3 separate regions of the Homo sapiens genome follow, and all the other regions are linked to region 1. The links are contacts of gene promoters, found by promoter capture Hi-C in blood cells and fetal thymus (Javierre and others, 2016). All regions are on one chromosome and are shown on one strand. The core of a region is centred on a gene start or on the middle of the fragment in contact, and the rest is flanking DNA. Distances in the headings are between cores, read along the strand shown.

Region 1 (3,060 bases), core at 277-2,776:
GGAGGGATCTAGCAAGAGGCTAGACCTTTGGTAACGTCAGCAACATTGCCCTCCCTTCCTTGATCAAAAGAAGTGCTGGACACACAAGCACCATGAAACCCCACTGCGAAACCATTAGTGTGGCGGGCGCGTGGCTCACACCTGTCAGCCCAGCGCTTTGGGAGGTCAAAAGGCAGGAGGATCGCTTAAGTCCTGGAATCCAAAACCACCCTAGGCAACAGTGAAACCCCGTTTCTTTTTAAAAATATGAAATAAACCGCTAGTTAATAAAGAGGAGGAGAAGCTTGCTTCTGCTTTCCTATGAAGACCAGCTACAGCAGGGTACAGCCTGACTTCAGCAGCGCTAACTGTAGCAGGGACCTTTTAATGAATGCTAGGCACTGTTTGAAACAATACGTGGTCACTCATTTCACCCTGAGGTGACACAGGCGCTACCACTGCTTAAACCTGACAAGAATAAACAGTCACCAACCGGGCCCTGATGTCTCCCAGTAAGGACGAATACAGAGAAGCCTGATTCACACCCCAGCAGGATGGCTCACAGCCTGTGCTCTTCAGCCCTTCGCTGAACTGCCCTGGGGCTGGGGGAACGCACAGCAACCTGGCCATACTGCATCCTCCACACCTGTCGCCACACCGTCCGTCCTCAGACGGACGTGAACACCAGGGCGCTCTGGGAGGAGAGAGAAACTACGCAGCTCTCCAGGAAGGCAACACAGAACCACGAAGCTCAGCCGCAGCTCTAGGAAAGCTATGACCTTGATCTTTTAAGGAATTCCTTCCCAGGTGCTTCATATCAAATCCTCTACTAACTAGGTAAAGAACAAGTATCGGCTCCTTCTACTAGGAGCACAAATTTCATTCTAAGAAGTGCGACGTGGCTAGGTGACCACCCAAGGTCACGCAACCGGCAGCCGGACGGCAAGAGCTGTATTTCAGGTTTGGTGACGCCCATCAAAAAGGTCGCTGGGTGCCATCAGGCCGTGAGGTTTCTCCCTACAGTTCCTAACTAGCGACCGGCGCAGCCGGCACCTCCCAGCCCTGGGCTCCCGGGAGGGCGGCCGGGCACTGGCTGGGCACGCCGCGCACTCCGTCTGCCTGGGCGCCAGAGACCCCACGCCCCGCAAACTCCGGCTTCCACCCCAGCCCCAAATTCGCCACCCTTAGCGCTGCCAGAGTCGTCGCTGGCTCGGCTCACGCAGCTCTTCAAGCAGAGGGGCCACAGTCGGGCGCCTGGCAGGGCCAAAGCCGCCGCCCCCGCCACACCTGCCCGGCGCGGACCGGGCGCCCCTGAGAAGCCCGCACGGCCCCGCGAGGCCGCGCCCAGCTCCCGCCGCCCTCGCCGCTGGCCCTCCCGGGGCGGCCCCTCGCGGCCCGAGGGCACTGGCTGGAGACGCCTTCGCTGCCCTCAGCCTGCGCGGCGCAGGCGCCCACCTTGAGGGTCGGGTACTCCTGGACCTTCAGGGTCATGGACAACTGAGCCGCCGACTCCTGCACCGCCATCTTGAAGCGGCCAAAACATTAGCGGGCGGGGGACGCGCGAGCGCGCTGCACGCCGGGAAATGACGCCACGCGCCGGCCGGAGCAGGATGGGGGCGGGCCGATGCCCCTGCACCAATCGTATCCGCCCAGTCGGCCGGAGGCGGAAGAAGGCGCGAACCAATCACTGCCGGGTTTCCTCTCGTTCAGCCAATCAACGATAGCCCCGGCTGGCGGTTTCCACCTTGAATTCGCTACCGGGTTCAGGCCGCAGACGCCGGAGCTGGGGATGCTCCTGGCCCGGGGCGGGCCGATGGGGTGCGGGCTGCGGCCCGGGCGGGTGGAGCTGGGGCCGAGCGGGCTGGGGGACTTGGCGTCCGTCCAGTTACTTGGGGCTCCCGCGGGGTGGTCCCCTGTGGGTCCCTCGTGCCTGCGGTACCAAGGGCAACGCCAACAAAACGCCTGGCCGCATGCGCCTGTAGCCAGCTATTTTTCTTTGGCCTTATTTTGACCGATTTACAGCTGCTGGAATCCTGATGTGGAACCTCCGACTTCCCAACGGAAGAGGAAAGGCCCAGTACCTAAAACTGATTTATGGACAGAAACTCCCGAAGCATGAGAAGCGTGTGGCCTCTCCGCCCTCTCCTTGCAGGGCGGGCAGCGCTGGCATCCAGGTCGTGCGCTGCCTTCATTTCAGCCACTTCACATTCTCAGCCTTTCAAACACCACCCGTCTCCCTCCTTTCCAAAATAAAACTGAAATTAGATTTTATTAATTAGGAAATGACGTCCCAATTAAACCACCTTGTGTTTCACATAACACATTTCTAAACAACTTTTAAAATATTTGGTGTTTAAACAAAGGAAAAACATCTAAGGTGACACAGCGATGAAGGGAGAACCTCCGCTTGGAGGCTGCTACATGTTACAGCCGCAAGACATCCGACCCGCACTGTGGAATCTTTCTCTGTCTTACTTAAACAGGAGTTGGGACTAAGGAAAGTGTTATTCCTCAAGTGTGTGGCTGCAGACTCCAGTCTTTTAGACATTTGAAGTAAGTTTTACAGTGAGGTGCACAAATCTTAACTATACAGCTTTAATGAATTTTCACCCATATTTGCACTTTTATCTAACCGTGTCCTGGTTGAGATTTAGGACATTTCCCGTGGCACAGAAAGCTCCTCTGCCCCTTCCCGGGCTATATCCCCATCATTCTAACCCTGCTCCCCGTAACAGCGTTCCTGACCTTCCTATAGAGATGGAAGCATGCACTCTGTACTCTTTGCGTCCTTTCACGGTTCGCATCGTGTCTGCCACTCTCCGGGATGGTCCCAGTAGTACACAGGAGCACTGCAGCAGTTGGATGGACTGCACTCCTCTTAGAGACTGCCTTCACTTCACCAGGGATTCAAGATTAACCCAAAGGAAAGGACACGGGTTTCATTTCCATGGTAAAATGATCCTATCCTAGTACCATCTACAGTCAGAAATACTTAGGAATTATAAGGCAGAGGTTTGCACGTTGGAGAGGTTGTTTAACCCTCTACAACCTTTGAGTCATTCATTCTAGGTTTTCTTATGT
Region 2 (3,060 bases), core at 370-2,869, 350 kb before region 1:
GACCTCTGGGAAGGCTGTCCTGCCGGCAGCACCCGTCAGCACCCACTCTGTGAATTTAATACAAGGCCTTTGCTTTGTGCATACGACTTCTGATTAATTTTCGTTTCCACCATCTGAAGTGGGCCTGGCTGCGCCTCAGGCCTCTGGTCTCTGGCTCAGAACCAGACAAGGCAAGGGATTTCCTGTTTTTCATTCTTGCACTTTTAATAAAATCGTAGGGGTTTCGAGTTTGCGATAGCAAAAGAAAACATTAATACTTTTTTGAAATTTTCTTGTTTTTTTCTCAATACAATTCATGAAAGGTCATTGAAGTTAATCAATGCCACTTTCTTAACTGACATGGGCCACAGATCAAAGGTGGGCAAAGGTGGCGAGTGGTGTGGTTTTGTTGGATCAGCTTTCCTGAGGCCGAGCTGCTTGGGTGAAAGTGGGGTTCTGGCTCTCGGGTGACCCTCCTGCCTCTGCCCTGCAAGACGGGGGATGGCGCTGGGGAGTTTGGGGCCTTAGCAAGTGGGATCCCCCTTCCTGGCCAGGCTCTGCCCTCCTCCGTTGGGGCAGTGCCTACTCTCCTGCTGTGCTGGCCCGGGGTCAGGAGCCCTCCTGTCGTTGGCAGGCCCTGGGTGGCTCCTGTGCTGGGACTGACAGAACAGGGGCTCAAGAGAGTGTCACCTGCTCCCCAGAGCCACCCCTGGCCTCGTGTGAAGGGAAGGGAGGGCCCTGGCATTGGACTTTGACACAGTTGCCAGACTGCACAGGAAGGTTGTGTTTTGGATTAAATTTGTGGAGATCAGCTCCGGGTGGTTTAGCAAAAGCCACAGTCACCTGCGTAGTCATCCAGGGTGCTGGGATTTGGGGTGGGGCGGGCGGTGCTCTGAGATGACTTAGTACAGGGCAGGGTCCCTCAGGTCAGAGGCTGGCTGTGGGGCTGGAGTGGCCTCCAGGGCACCGGCCACTGGTCTGCAGGACATGGCAATCTGGACAGCAATGGGAGACAGGGCTGTGGGGCTGGCATGGTGGTGGTGTCAGGCCTGCCAGGGTCCCACAGGGCCCTCTGCTGCAGGTCGGGGAGGGCGTCAGAGATGAGGCAGGGTGTGTCGCTGTGGCTGCAGAGGGGCCCGAGGTCCCCACCAAGGCCTGGATGCCCCAGGGGCAGGTGGGGCCTCGCCCCCTCCCTGCAGTCACTCTCTACGCTGAGTCCACCCGGCGTCCCCTCCCGCTGGATGGTGACCCAGGTTTGGGAGATCTGTCCACTGTGTTACCTGGAGTCTAGAACAGTTCCCAGCTGACTCTCGCTACCTGAGTCCCCTTCAAGGACAGGCAGGAGGAGGGGGGCCACTGACTGCTCACACCCCAGCCCAGGGGCCCCTCACCAGCTCTGAGCCTGGCCTGGGTGTGTGGGAGCGAGGGGATGTGGGGTGAGCTGGGGTTTACGTGTGCAGTCACCAGCCGCCCCCCACCCCTCCGACACTCCCCTTCCCTTGACGGAGCGTCTGGTCCTGCCTGCAACCCTTGGACTTGCCACCTTCCCCCAGGGCTTCCCCACCTCTCTCACCTCCTACCCTACCTCATCTCCTCCTTCCCCAAACCTCTGGCTCTCCTGGGCAGAACCTTTCCGGCTGGCTGGTGAGTGGGGCTGGAGGCTCCTCCTGAGGCCCGAGCCCAGGGCCATTCCCCTCGGTGCCCTTGATGTAGGGTGTCTGGTTGGTGGGGCCCTCGGTGGGGCAGTGCAGCCGGTTCTTCTGCAGTGCCGACCTGCTGTGTCCTCTGCGGGTGGGGAGACTGAGACGGAAGGTTCAGGGCACCCTTGGGTCCCCTGTCTGCCTAGCACAGGGTGGCGTGTGTGTGCGAGTGAGCTCACAGCCCGGCCCCTGGGGCTTGTCCCCAGGGCTGTATTTTCCCTTGGGCGTGTCTGCGTGTTTCCTGGAATGGGGGGCCAGGACCCTCACCAGGGGCATTTGAGTCCCTTGGTTGGCCCTGCAGGGTCACCTGCCTGAGGCCGGGGGCAGCCTTGGGGGTTGGCCTGCTGCCTCGTGTGGATGCTTGGCCCCTTGGGGATGGAGAGAGGCTGCTGCTGAAGCTGCAGGAAGTTCTGGTGGGGTGGGGGCTGCTCAGCTGTGTCACCCACGGTGGGCCTGGACTTGGTCTTTCCTCGACTAGCCACAGGCAGGGGGTCCCAGGGCCCTCTGGGGTGACCCCAGAGCCGTGGACAGGTGGATGGGAGGAATGGGGGGCCTGAGGCACAGTGCAGCCCCTGGGTCCCTGGGACCTGCTTTGGGCACCCACCTCAGCGGTCAGCCCGTGTGGGATCCACTGGGCTGGGCAGACATGGTGGGAGGGCCGGGGTTGTGCCTGGTACCCTGGGACAGCTCCCTTCCTGCGCTGGGGGCCTGTGAGGCCACTCCTCAGTCCCAAGGCTGGGATCCTTCAGACAGGCCCCTCCCTGCCCCTAGCCCCCAGCACTGCTGCAGTGGCCCACCCCTGCCCACCCCTGCCCACCCCTGCCGGGCTGCCCCCAGCCCTCCCCCTCTCCTGGGGCCTTCCCCACTGCAGGGCTCCTGTCCCTGTGGAGGGCTCCTGAGGGGAAGAGGCTGAGGCGAGGTGGGGCAGGGATATGGGGATGAGAGAGGGATGGCTTCCCCACCCTTCCCAGAGCATCCACACCTATGTCTTCTCCTGAATACGTCTCCATCCTCCCCCAGGCTCCCTCTGTCCCTCGAGGGCTGGCCTCACCCCCAACCGTTCCCTCCAGCCCTGCCCAGAGCCTCTGAAGACCCGGGGAGGTGGGGACGGCCTGGCTGGGAGCCTCCCTGGCAGCGTGGGGTGGCAGCCTCTGTGCCAGGGCCTCAGAGCCAGCCAGTCCCCTGCAGTCACAGGCCCCGTGCTTGTCTAACTTTTTGTTCCTTATCCTGGGCCTATTCTCTGGCCATCCCCGCCCCCACCCCCCACCCGAGCATGGGTGCCGGAGGCATGGCAGCCCAGCCCAGCTGAGAGCCCCGGACCTCCCTGTGCCGAGAGCTTGTCTGCCCAGGCACTCCCCAGCCCCAGACGGTTGTGGCCCTC
Region 3 (3,060 bases), core at 385-2,884, 300 kb after region 1:
GCTGGAGTGAAGCGCTACAAACATACCTCACTGCAGCCTGGACCTCCAGGGCTCAAGCAATCCTCCTACCTTAGCTTCCCAAAGTGCTGGGCCAATGACAGCGTTTGTTTTTGAGACGGGCTCTTGCTCTGTGGCCTAGGATAGGGTGCAGTGGCCTAATCATACCTCATGGCAGCCTCAAACTCCTGGGCTCAAGCCATGCTCCCACCTGAGCCGCTTGAGTAGCTGGGATACAGGCACACACCACCACACCCAGCTAATTTTTTACTTTTAATTTTTTAAAGGTTGGGGGGCAGGGGGCGGCCGGGTGCAGTGGCTCAAGCCTGTAATCCCAGCACTTTGGGAGGCCGAGGTGGGTGGATCACGAGGTCAGGAGATCAAGACCATCCTGGCTAACATGGTGAAACCCCGTCTCTACTAAAAATACAAAAAATTAGCCGGGCGTGGTGGCGGGTGCCTGTAGTCCCAGCTACTCGGGAGGCTGAGGCAGGAGAATCACTTGAACCCGGGAGACAGAGCTTGCAGTGAGCCGAGATCATGCCACTGTACTCCAGCCTGGGCAACAGAGCGAAACTCCGTCTCAAAAAAAAAAAAATTAGCCGGGCGCGGTGGCGGGCGCCTGTAGTCCCAGCTACTCAGGAGGCTGAGGCAGGAGAATGGCGTGAACCCAGGAGGCAGAGCTTCCAGTGAGCCGAGATCACACCACTGCATTCCGGCCTGGGTGACAGAGCAAGACTCCGCCTCAAAAAAAAAAAAAGAAAAGGTGGGGGGCGTCTCACTATGTTGACCAGGCTGGTCTTGAACTGCTGGCCTTAAGCGATCCTCCTGTCTAGGCCTCCCAAAGTGTTGGAATTACAGGAGTGAACCATCGTGCCTGGCTAATAATTCCTTTTAAAAAGCAGCTTACCCTTATTTTCACGTGTGGGCCTAATTTAGTTCACTTAAAAAAATCATTTATCTTCACCCCAGCCCTATGAGGCAGGCACTGCCGGTCCTGGTCTGTGGTAGAGGGGAGGGCAGAGGAGCCGTGAGGGTGACCAGGCGCTGTGGGTCGGTGCTGGGTCCAGTCAGACCAGGACTCCTGGCCAGTCACGGCACCTTGACCCCGGCAGTCCTCGCCCTGGGCGGTGAGCACCACACACAGGGCTTACGCGAGCACACACGCATATGCACGCACCGGCAGCCTTGGGCTGAGCCGGCTGTCAGCCTCTGCCCTGCTCCAGCTTGGACCAGGCTGGCTCCTTGCAGGACCAGGAGGGTGTCCGGCGACTGGACACGGAGACCAAGCCTCCCTCAGCCCCGCCTGGGTTTGAAGGCTGCTGCACTCGACCCCAGACCCCAGAGCTGAAGGTTTACCTGTGCTCAGCCCCTGAGCCCCCGCCTCCCGCTGGTCCCTAAGCCCCCCCGGCAGGGCCGCAGAGCCACAGCTGCAGCGGCTCCTGGGAGGCTGGGAGCTCCTCAGAGGCCCACACAGCTCTAACTCCTACAAGCCCCTGATTACAGTTCAACTCCCGGATCAGCCGATCAGGTAACATGGCTGGAGAAACCCATGACTCAGCAATCTGTAGGTAAATAATTGAACTACAGAGTCCAGGGCACAGACCACTGCCTGCAGGTTGGCGCCACCACCCCCACTCTCCCCGCTGCTCGCGGGAGCCAGAGGGCCCTGCGGTCCTCGGTGGTCTTGCCAGCCCCTCGTCATCCCAGGGCCCTCCGCGCCTGTGAGGACTCCCTCAGGTAAGAACCATCCTGGGCCCAGATCTCAGCTGCAGCAGAGGGGGGCGTGGGAGCCGAGGCCAGAAATGCCCTGGACTCGTGGTTTCTTAGGGGCACCCTCAGGCTCAAGGCAGGTGGCCCTACTGTCCCCATTCCACACACCTGGACCCCAGGGGCTTGGGGTGGGCTTCAGGGCATCCAGGGACCCAGTGTGGTGGGGTCTTCCAGGGAAGGGGACACAACTCTTGCAATGTTGCCTGAGGGCCAGGACCCCCGCTCTGTGCCCCAGGGGTGCTGTGCCCAGCCTGCATGTGTCAACCTACCAGGCTGGGCTCACTGCCCCAACACACCCGCCAGGAGACTGGAGCTCGCACACCCTGGGCCAGCGTGCAAACAGCAGGCTCAGCCCAGGCTCCAGGGTGTCCTGGGCACCTGGTGTCCTGGGAGCAAAGTCTTTGCCTAACGTCGCTGAGAAGAATGTTTAAAGTGAAAGTACATTGGAGTCTGCAAACAGGACAGACCCGAGGCCTCACGTGGGACCAGTCAGGCCTCTAAGCACCGCCTCCCTAACGCCACGGTGTTTTCCGAGATCAAGGGAAAGGTCAGGTGCCCTTCCGGCTCTGCCGGCCCAGGGTGACTGTGTGCAGCGGGCTGGGCCCTCTCGGTGCTGCCTCGGGACAGTGTGTCATGGCCGTTCCACAGTGAGCTGGTGCAGCCTGGGAAAAAGGGCGCCTCACGTCCCAGAACTGTCTGGGCAGGGGAGACAGACGCCAGTCACCCTCCTCCCCTCCCAGCTGGCCCTGATGGGGCCCCCGTCCAGGCATATTCTCAGAATTCTGTCCCAAGTCCAGGCGGATGGGCTAGGCTAGTGTCTGAGTGCTGCTCCCCCAGCAGACTTGGGGTCCCAGTACCCACAAAGCTTGGCAGGGACATAGGAGGCCTCTTCCTGAGACTTCCGCCAGCCCCAGGACCCACAGGGCAGGTGACAGAGGGGTGGGTGGAGGTGTCTCCAGGAGAGCAGGCGATGGTTTGGATGGGGGAGGGAGGGCTCTGGTGTGGGCATGGGGTGGACAGCAGGACCGTTTGCCAACCTGGGGAGCCAGGGAGGTGGACACGGAGCAGCTGGACTCAGGCTTGCCTGCACCTGTGTCCAGTGACTGTGACATTCTGACGGTAGGCACATGTGCGTGGTGGCAGCCCAGCCTGTTCCTGCCCCGTTGGGGAGGTGAGCTTCAGGAGGCTACAGGGTGGTTTTCAGCCAGGAACCGCAGAGCCAATAGGCCGGAGCTGAGCCTGGACAGGGTGCCGCCACGCCGCCCCTCAGCACTGCTGGCCTCAGCACAC

Evidence for each region. The method cuts DNA at HindIII sites, captures the fragments that hold promoters and counts their contacts. A CHiCAGO score of 5 or more calls a contact.
Region 2: a fragment that was not itself captured here is called in contact with the fragment with the promoter of MAEA in region 1 in 1 of 17 cell types (endothelial precursors); the score reaches 5.9 in endothelial precursors.
Region 3: a contact is called between the fragment with the promoter of SLC26A1 here and the fragment with the promoter of MAEA in region 1, in 2 of 17 cell types (M1 macrophages and M2 macrophages). The highest score is 5.8, in M1 macrophages.

What each region holds. Positions count from the first base shown.
Region 1 is chr4:1,288,357-1,291,416 of GRCh38, reverse strand. MAEA (macrophage erythroblast attacher, E3 ubiquitin ligase) reads right to left here and starts at 1,526. Exons shown (of 9, transcript NM_001017405.3): 1 at 1,435-1,526. The coding sequence starts at 1,503. LOC105374347 (a long non-coding RNA gene) reads left to right here and starts at 1,846. Exons shown (of 3, transcript XR_925046.3): 1 at 1,846-2,532. RefSeq lists silencers at 1-127, 1,216-1,495, 1,596-2,005. The HindIII fragment of the contact is 13,993 bases long and covers 286-3,060 here.
Region 2 is chr4:1,637,075-1,640,134 of GRCh38, reverse strand. It overlaps FAM53A (family with sequence similarity 53 member A), which reads left to right. Exons shown (of 5, transcript NM_001174070.3): 5 at 1-248. Among named protein-coding and RNA genes, the nearest start is that of FAM53A, 46 kb to the left of the region's middle. The HindIII fragment of the contact is 4,008 bases long and covers 1-3,060 here.
Region 3 is chr4:991,978-995,037 of GRCh38, reverse strand. SLC26A1 (solute carrier family 26 member 1) reads left to right here and starts at 1,634. Exons shown (of 3, transcript NM_022042.4): 1 at 1,634-1,737. All of the region lies in intron 2 of IDUA (alpha-L-iduronidase), which reads right to left. RefSeq lists enhancers at 674-1,485, 1,486-2,297. The HindIII fragment of the contact is 37,873 bases long and covers 1-2,637 here.